Regions from separate parts of the Homo sapiens genome. Here region 1 is linked to region 2. The links are contacts of gene promoters, found by promoter capture Hi-C in blood cells and fetal thymus (Javierre and others, 2016). All regions are on one chromosome and are shown on one strand. The core of a region is centred on a gene start or on the middle of the fragment in contact, and the rest is flanking DNA. Distances in the headings are between cores, read along the strand shown.

Region 1 (4,771 bases), core at 2,072-4,571, 220 kb after region 2:
GAACCTGGGAGGCAGAGGTTGCAGTGAGCGGAGATCGTGCCACTGCACTACAGCCTTGGTGACAGAGCAAGGCTCCATCTCAAAAAAAAAAAAAAAGAAAGAAAGAAATGAGAAATCTGTGGGTGCTTTGTAAACTGAGGTGTAAACTAGGGCTGAGTTGGGGGACCTGCCCAAGGTCTCTGGGCAAGGTCAGTACAGAGCTGGGTCCAGACCTGAGCTCCGATCTCTTAATCCAAGGTTTAGTCCAAACAGGAGGAAGAAAAGGAGGGCCCAGGTGACTAGGGGGCAAGGACAGCATAGGGATGTGCCTCTCTGATCATGCTCACACCTCCTCTCCACGGAAAGGAAATCCCCCAACTTCAGAGGCAGAACCACTACTTCTCATACATGCAAAGCATTTTGCAGTTGACAATGCTCTCAGGAGACGTTCAACAGCTCTGACAAGTAAGCATTGTCTTCCCATTCTCCAGGGGCAGAGTCAAGACGCAGATGGGTGAAGGGACTTGCTCAGGGGCCCCCTGCCCATCCCCTGGCTGCACCCTACCTTCGTCCCCTCGTACAGGAAGGCATCCCAGACCCGAAGGAGGATGTTGCTAATGAGACTGTCCGCAAAGACCACGAGGAACCAGTTGAAGGTGACGAGGGAGAGATCCACGTGGTGCTGCCCCAGATGGGCCATCAGCCTGGGCAGCTTCTCCGAGAGCAGGTCCTGGAGCACCCGCTGGTCCACCTGGAAGCCAGCGAGAGGGCCTGTCATCTGCAGCCCCAGCGTAGGGCTGCCTCCCTCCCTGCCCAGCCTTCCTACCCAGTCAGTCCACACACAATCCTGAAGCTGCTCTGGGCAGGTCCTTTCCTGCCCAGGAGACACCTCGGGGAGCCAGGGGCCAGTCTAGCTGGGAGTCAGGTACAGCATCATATCACTCCGCTGCTCCTAATATAGGCCAGAGTCCTCTGGACTGGGGCACTGGGCTCTGCAGTGGAGCCATGTGGGCTGGCACGTTCTCCGCCCGCTCACCCATCTGAATCCCTTGAGCCAAGCAGGAGGTCAGGGGCCAGCTGATCCTGCTGGCAGTTCAGAGACACTGGTCTCATGCCCAGGGGCCTTGGCGAAATGGAAGCTTTGTCTCTAGGCTTATATCAGCTGACAACCACAGCCCCTTCTCTATACCCAATTTGTGCCTGACACCTAAGATGCTAGGCGGATGTCTGGTCCAGGGACAGGTGTGTGTGGGAACGCATAATGTCCTGCCTCGCCGGACATCAAGGAATCTTCTCAAAACAGGGTGCTCCTGGCGACACTGGCCAGTGACCTCTTCTTGTGACCACTGTCATGCCTCCGTCCTTGTTTCACTGGATGGGTTAACCACTCTCAGCACTGGCTCCAAGACATGGTTCTTTCGTGGTTCTCCTCCTCCCTCTGTGATGACTCCATTTCAGTTTCCCCTTGCTTTTCCTGGAACTGCTCAGTCCTCTCCTCTCACTTATGTCCTCTTCCAGGCATTAGCGTCAGCTGTGGCAAACAGCCAGTAGCTCCCCTCCTCCCTCACCCAGAACCTTGGGTCATCTACCGAGGCCAAGTGTCCAGTTCAAAACCTAAGGTAACTCCCCAAGTCTAAGATGCCATTGACCTACTGAAGGATTTATGGATGAACTGATACAATGCCAGAAATTTACTTCAAGACAAAGCAGGAGGAGCGGATGGGAGTTCAGAAGAAATAACACTGGCTCCCTGGGTTGATAACTGAAGCCAGGTAATGGACACATGGAGGTTCATTATACTATTCCCTCTATCGTTTTGAATGTGGGAAATTTTCCATAATAAAATATGGAAAAAAGGGTCATATAACACACATCAATTTCAGAGATGTTAAGATGTAAAAATTAAATATGTACATTTCCTAACTTGCCTTGCAACTAGGGCAGCCATGAAATAGTTCTGACCAGTAAACTGCAAGTAGAAATTGCTGGGTCAGGGAGCCAGCTCCTGGTGTTCACCTTCTGCTTCTCCTGGCCTAGGCCATGCCCACAGTGCTGGAGGCGATGCAGCCATTTTGTGACCAGGAGGTGATGGGTGTGAGGATGAAGGCCACCTGCCAGAGATGGCAGAGCAGGGAGCTAGGAGCCTGAACCCTGCGGTACTGCCTTGTCATTCACTATCTGAGAATAATAATCCCCGATTGAAGCTGTTGTTAGGTTGGGCTTCTCTTCCATGCAGCCAAATGCACTCCCACAGTGCAGAGGGAGAAATGGAAGCCCGAGAGATTCCCAACTTTCCTGAGAGTCACAGGCTTCTAGGAACAGCTCTGGGGCACTGCCCTACATGGCTGCAAAGTCCCCTCCTGGCCCCACTTACCTGGGATGCCGTCAGCGTGTTGCAGTAGTAATCAGCGGGCATGATGGTCTCCACAATGGCCACCAGGCACCAGAAGGCGCTCTCCTCCTCCTCTAGGACCAGCAGGGCAATGGCCGCCAGCCTGGAGTAGTAGGGAAGGCCTGGAGTGATTACAGAAGCCGTGGCCCTGCCAGGCAGCACATGGCAGAGGTGGCTTCCTGGGTTCCAGGGGGAAAGTCCTTCCATGTGAGCATCAGTGCAATCCCACTCCCTAACCAGATTTGTGCTCCTGGCACCTGGGGTGAGATAAACGCTCTTTTGGGGAGGATGACCGGCGATTTCCAGAGCAATGGGGGTCACTTCAGAGCAGGGGCTCTGAAATCAGGCTGCTTGGGTAAATCCTGATCTTGTGGCTTCCTGGGTGACCTTGGGCAAGTTACTGAACCCCTGTAAGCCTCAGTCTCATAATAATCACAGGACTATTTTGAGGATGAACAGAGCTCATTCAGTGCCCCACACAGTGCCTGCCACACAGTGAGCTCTTTATAAATGTTAGCTATCCTCACCTTAGTATTCACAGGCTTTGAGACCTTGGCAAGTACACTAACCTCTCTGGGCCTTGGTTTCATGATCTGTAAAGTGAGATTAACAATATCTATCCCCCCGGGGCCAAGAGGCATCTTGAGACAGACCTACCTTGCCTCGCTCACTGCCTGGCATTTAGGAGGTGCTCAATGCACATAGCTTTTTTTCTCCTTTACTTCCCCTCCCCGCCAAGTTAGCATAAGGCTCTAATGAAATCATGGGTAAGAAACAAACAAAAACCCACAGGGCTGAGCAGGGAAGTCTTCCTGGGATAAGTACTGTTTTCTCTACTTCTCCCATCTTCCCTGGCAGCTCTCATCCCGGGCCAATCCAAGAAGTCATTTTCCAAAAATGTCTTCCAGGGACTACTGGTCTCCCAAGATGCTAGGTGAACACAAGGTTCTATATTCAAAGATATCTGGGGAATGCTGCCCATTCTAGCCCCTGAGAGGCTTATGACACACACTGTCTTAGTAAAGCCTCTGAGAAGTCCTGTGGTGACAAAACGCTGTGTGGCTGACTCTAACCCAGGGTCGCCCAGGGGGTCCACAGAGCCCCTGTTGTCCATTGCACCCATGGGGGCCTAGTAGAATGAATGTTCCTCAGAGGACCCTGGAGAGATGTCGCTTTAGAAAGCCTCTGACTCTCTGGTCATAACGAGCATTTAAGGAACACATTCCCTCATCCAGATATTTATGCTTCTTTGGGTTCTCTCTAGATTGGATTCATGACCTCCACCTTCTTTTGAGGCTCACAACTCTTAGAAACATGGTTGAATCTCAAAAGAAAAAAGAAATATCCCTTCTCTTTCCCCAGTAGATTGGGAAGGAATTTCTCCCAAATTTGGTTCAGATATTTGTACAAAACCTTCCTAAGTCGAAGCTGAGTGGATGAAGAGAACAGTCACAGGTCTCCTGGGAAATAGGAAGCTCCGTTCTCTCAGAGCTGGTGGGGAGGGACCTCCATAGGTCACTGAGTTCAAGGATAGCAAACGTGAGATACACTGGCCTCTATCCTTTTCGTCTGTGCCCAGGGCAGACATAACTAACTGATCATGGCAGCATTCCCTTTGTCTAAGCCCATGGTAGACATAAGTAATTGATCACAGTACTCTTTCCCACTGAGTCTGAAGGCTGCCTCAGAAACTCTCTCAGGACAGGGCTCCAGGTAGCTGCTTCCTACTGGTCATCTCTGGTCTAAACAAACTCCTTATTGCAGTGGTGGAAAAACCAAGGCTTAGAAAGCAGAAGTTACCTGCTCAACATTACATAGTCAGTTGGTGGCAGAGTGGAAACAGAACCCAGGGCTCCCAAAGTCTAGCCCAGTGCTCTCTCCACTCTATCCCACCCTGTTCCCCCTGAGCCTCAGAATGGCCTCAGTCTAGGGAGTTAGCTGCCAGCATTGGTTTAGACTTCAGCACATGTTAAAAACTCAGTTATCTGAGGCTGGTTGCTAGGGCTTACTAACTGCTCAGGTGTATGGCTGAATTCGAACCTAAGGCATTTAGGGCCCAGGTAGGCTTGCAAAGAAAGGAGTGTGTTGATGGGGGAAAAACAAACCACTTTTAGAGCACTGTACTTATTTTCATAGGTTTAAAACATTTGCTCTAAATTAGCATTAGACCATCACTAAACAAGCTGGATTTGTTGCCTTAGAGGCAGGGTCTGTCATCTTGAGACATCAAACATGCAGTTCCTTTTCTTTTCTTTTTTTGAGACAGAGACTCACTCTGTTGCCCAGGCTAGAGTGCAGTGGCATGATCATGGCTCACTGCAACCTCTGCCTCCTTATCACCTCAGCCTCCCGAGTAGCTAGAACTACAGGCATGTGCCACCACACTTGGCTAGGTTGTTA
Region 2 (4,278 bases), core at 1,567-4,066:
TTAAGCTGGTTTCAGAGCTAGTTAAATCAATGACCTAGTAGGGCTGTTTCCTCTCATCTTCAGATTTATTAAAGTCTGTCCACAGCCACAAAGTTTGTGGGGAAGGCTCAAGTCATATGATGACATGACAAGTAACATGCTGTTGCTGAGGCAGCGGGGTGGGGCACAGGTCCAAGGAGTTACAAACTGGCTCGGAGTGTTCCGCTCAGACATTTTAGAGCTTTTTGGAATACATAGCCATTCTGATTAACAGGCAGTTTTAAGGCTCAAGGGGTGCCAAAACCTGGCATTATTTGATATTTTTATTACTTACTGGTCAAACGTTAACATCAATGGAAGTAAAAAGAAGTTCATTCTTAGTTTGGTCTAACAAACTGTTTTTACATTTCCTTATTCCCTTTCAGCCCTTGTTGAAATCCATAAATCCATGGACATGATAATACTTGCAGATTAGATATAATTGAATATTCTACATCTTTCTCACACACAGATGCAGAGAATGATGTTAAGAGCAGCAATATTCAAAACCCAGGCGCTGTGACAACAGCCCCTTCAGGCCTGTAGACTGACAGTCCCGTAGAAGATGTTGGCAGGGCAATGAGACACACCCTGCTCTGCCTGTGTTATTTATGCCTCTGGCAGTGAAGCCCCTGACAAAGAAGCATGTCACTGGAACACATGCTCTTTGTTCACAGAGGTGCATGCCAGCACCGGCTGCGTAAGAACGGACAGTGCCGTGTCTGTAGTCTCTCCTCCTTTGGCTCTTTTGCCTTCTATTTGCAGCACATTGTGGCTATGTTTATTAATTACTTTGTGGCTTAATACTATAAAACACACATCTATCCTGTGAGCTATGTACCCTAGGGAAAGAGTCCTTCATACCCTCCAGTTGGCCATAAAGAGAGGACAGAGTCTCAAGATTTGCCCTGATGCTAAGGATTAATACCACCTCCTCCGGGAGCCATCAGGTTACCACTCTCTAGCACAGAGCTACCACGTTTAAGACTCCTTCAGCACCATCCCCCCTTTTCCTGCACGAGGACACTTGCATGCTGTTTGGTATTAAAAGCCCTCTGCAACTGTTCCCAACCTACAGCACCAAAGTAGCCCCCCACCATGCTATGACTCCACTCTAGCCAGACTGATGATGTAGCACAAGATGGTGGGCTGTGGAGTCAGACCTATCTGGGTGTAAATCCTAGCTCTGCTTCTTGCTGGACGTGCAGCTTAAGATTCCTGAGCTCCTCATCTGTAAAATGATTAAATTATCACCTACTTCAGAAAGTTGTCTGAGAATTAGAGAAATAATATCAAGCCCCTTAAAGCAGATCCTCAATAATCGCTTGTTGGCTCATGAAACCGATTTTTTGTTTTGTTTTGTTTTGTTTGGTAAAAGCCCTCATTGCATAGCCCTGTGGTTCTCATAACCTTAGTTACAGACCTTTTGTAACCCTGAGAACATCTGTCTCCATTTTCCCTTGTCATAAAGACGTCTGCTGAGACTACAAACGGAGTCAGGGAACTACTACCAGAAAGTTTTTCTTTTCCCATATTCCTTCTAAAACTTTCATCTTCAAATGTTAACTCACTCAGTATTTTAAAAGCTGATATATAATTGGTTTACAACTAAATTTGGGTTGTTTGCCACTAAAACTTAGGTAAAATAGGAAAGGGGGCACTTTCTTAACTTCCATAAAACTTCATGTTAATACATAGAATTTCAAGTTTTTCTTTAACAAATTGTTCTTAGTTTTTGGTGCTTCTTGTCAGTACGATCTTCTTAGATTGTATTTGATTTGACACATTATGTATTTACTTATTGTACGCTGAATATAACGTCATTCCCCGGTGTTCTGCAAAGCACAACACTCATCCCGATCTGGTGCTCTAACCCCTGGGACCCTTTGGGCCAGACCATGACAAAGGCTGCCTGCCAGGTTTCAGCGAAACTTAGACCACCAAGAATTTACACACTTCACAGGGGTGCCCTAAGGAATAAATGAGATTAAAAAAAAAAGTCTGCGGGGAAACCCTGAGGCCCTATTAGAAATGCTAATCGTTTCCTTCTCTAGCTCCTATTAAAATGTTAGAAAACCGAGGGAGACTCTCCTGAACAGGGTGGGGATGCTCGGCTGCTCTGTGGCTTAGCAAGCGACCCCAGCTGCCCTGCCAGGGCCGGTCGGCCGCGATTCCGTCCCGACGGGGGGGATCCTCGGCGGCACTACGGACGCCAGTCTGCCAAGGAGGCAGCGGGGTTCGGCCTGTTGGCCCCAGACTGTGTGGCAGGCAAAAGGTGAACGTCAAAGCCTGTCCCCGGCTTCTTCACATCTCGCGCCTCCGCGGGCGTCGGGCCGCCCCCGTGAGCCTCCCCGGATGGACTGGGTTTTAGGGACCCCCGCAGCCGGACTGCAAAGCTTCCCACCAACCCTTCCCGCGAACCTCCCAGCCCGGGCCGCAAGCCCAGCTCCGGGCGCGACGACGTGGGGCCGGAGGTAGAAGGAGTCTCAGCGCGGCGGGGGCCGGGGGGCGGGGAAGCCCCCCCACCCACGAGAAAGGTCTTACATCAGCCGCCCCACGTGCAATCGGAGAGAGGGAGGAAGTCGCTCCTCTATTCGGGCTGCGCCTTTCCCCAGCCTCCGCCCCGCCCGCCGCGAGTCTCCCCGCCCCGCCTTGGTGCAGCCGCGGCCGCCGAGCCGAGCAGCGCCGCGCGGGGCCGAGTGGAGCCGAGCAGCTGCCGCGCCGCGTCGCCGGTTTAAGCGCAGTGCAGGCCGCGGCCGGGGGCGGCGGTAGTGAGCCCAGCGCTGCGCTCCAGCCCCCTTTTCCCTCCATGGTTTCTCTCCGCTCCCGTGAGTAACTTGGCTCCGGGGGCTCCGCTCGCCTGCCCGCACGCCGCCCGCCACCCAGGACCGCGCCGCCGGCCTCCGCCGCTAGCAAACCCTTCCGACGGCCCTCGCTGCGCAAGCCGGGACGCCTCTCCCCCCTCCGCCCCCGCCGCGGAAAGTTAAGTTTGAAGAGGGGGGAAGAGGGGAACATGGACATGAAGAGGAGGATCCACCTGGAGCTGAGGAACCGGACCCCGGCAGCTGTAAGCAGAGACCCCTCTGGGTGCCCTCTCCCCCGATGACTTGCATGTAATGGTGGCCACCTGCGGGGCCCGGGCTGAGGGTTCGCCGGCCCCGGCGCGGGGAAGAGCGCAGCTCGTGGGCTCGGACGGGGAAGGCGGGCGGGCGCGGAGGGGGGAGCGAGCGCGCGAGGATTAACTCTTTGCCGCCCGCGGGCCCCTGGGGCGGCCGGGGGGAGGCAGCGGTGTGGGGGAAAGCAAACTTTGAGCGCTTCGCCCGCCGGGGTCTTTCCCCTGAGGGAGCGCGTGTGCAAGTGGCCGGCGGCGAGAGAGGGAGGCGGGGGTTGTGTAACGCTGGGAGCCATGTTTGCAGCCTCCCGGGATGCGCGGCCGGGCGGAGGCCCGGCCTGCCGAGGAGCTGCGCGGCCATCCCCGCCTGGGCCAGGCCGGGCTCCGCGCGCCCCGGGCCGGCCGGGGAAGGGGCGCGGGTGGGGCGGGACGGGGGCTCTTGTGGCCGGAGCTCGCCGTGGGCGCCGGCCCGGCCGAGGTCAGCAGTCGTGGGGCGAGGAGGGGGCTTTTTTCTTTTGAAGGGAGCGAGAAGCCCCCTCGGGCGCCTGGAGGCCTGGGCGGGCGCGGCCCGGCGCGCGGAGCGGGGGAGGGGCGGGCCAGGGCGGCGGAGGTGGCGCAACCGCCGCCCCTCCCGAGGCCAAGTTTGAAAAAAGGACGTGGTTCCCGCCATTTTTCAAGCCCAAAAATAAAACTTTCTCCCCCGTTCTCTCGCTCCCTCTTCGCCCTCGGCCTTGCCCACTCCTGCCTCCCAGGGGCAGCCCGGGTCGACCAAGGCCAACCGTTGTGGCGACGGCCTCGCCCTTCCCCCTGTGCCGCGGCGGCGGCGCCCGGGGCCCCTGCCCTTGCCCCGGGAGGCTGGCCCCTCCGTGTGGGCGGGCGGCGGCTCTTCACGCCAGCCGGGGCGCGCCACAGGCCGCCGCAGCGCCATGTTGGCGGGTGCCCGTCTCCCTGCGCCTGGTGAGCCGGCCCACGAGCTTGGCCTTGCCCGCCCGCCCTCGGCGCTGGCTGGCGGCCGCCTCTTCCCGCGCCGAGCCCTCGGTCTGTTTCCCCCCGCCCCGCCGGGGCTTGGCTCCCACTGGCGGGAGCCGCGCGCCGCGGCCGCCGCCGACTCATCCCGTCGCGGGCGCGCTGCCGACCCCCTCCCCCTT

What was found. Contacts are between HindIII fragments. The CHiCAGO score rates a contact against its expected background, and 5 or more counts as called.
Region 1: a contact is called between a fragment that was not itself captured here and the fragment with the promoter of ANP32B in region 2, in 2 of 17 cell types (activated CD4 T cells and non-activated CD4 T cells). The highest score is 5.6, in activated CD4 T cells.

The regions. Positions count from the first base shown.
Region 1 is chr9:98,200,935-98,205,705 of GRCh38, forward strand. TBC1D2 (TBC1 domain family member 2) reads right to left here. Exons shown (of 13, transcript NM_001267571.2): 10 at 2,354-2,474; 11 at 545-730. Among named protein-coding and RNA genes, the nearest start is that of CORO2A, 11 kb to the left of the region's middle. RefSeq lists enhancers at 295-796, 442-491, 797-1,296, 1,920-2,420. The HindIII fragment of the contact is 4,410 bases long and covers 1,117-4,771 here.
Region 2 is chr9:97,980,525-97,984,802 of GRCh38, forward strand. ANP32B (acidic nuclear phosphoprotein 32 family member B) reads left to right here and starts at 2,817. Exons shown (of 7, transcript NM_006401.3): 1 at 2,817-3,085. The coding sequence starts at 3,032. The region is part of intron 2 of LOC124902226 (a long non-coding RNA gene); the gene reads right to left. RefSeq lists silencers at 2,387-3,046, 3,197-3,286, 3,477-3,556, 3,627-3,826, 3,837-3,886 and 2 more and an enhancer at 2,687-3,569. The HindIII fragment of the contact is 9,132 bases long and covers 2,413-4,278 here.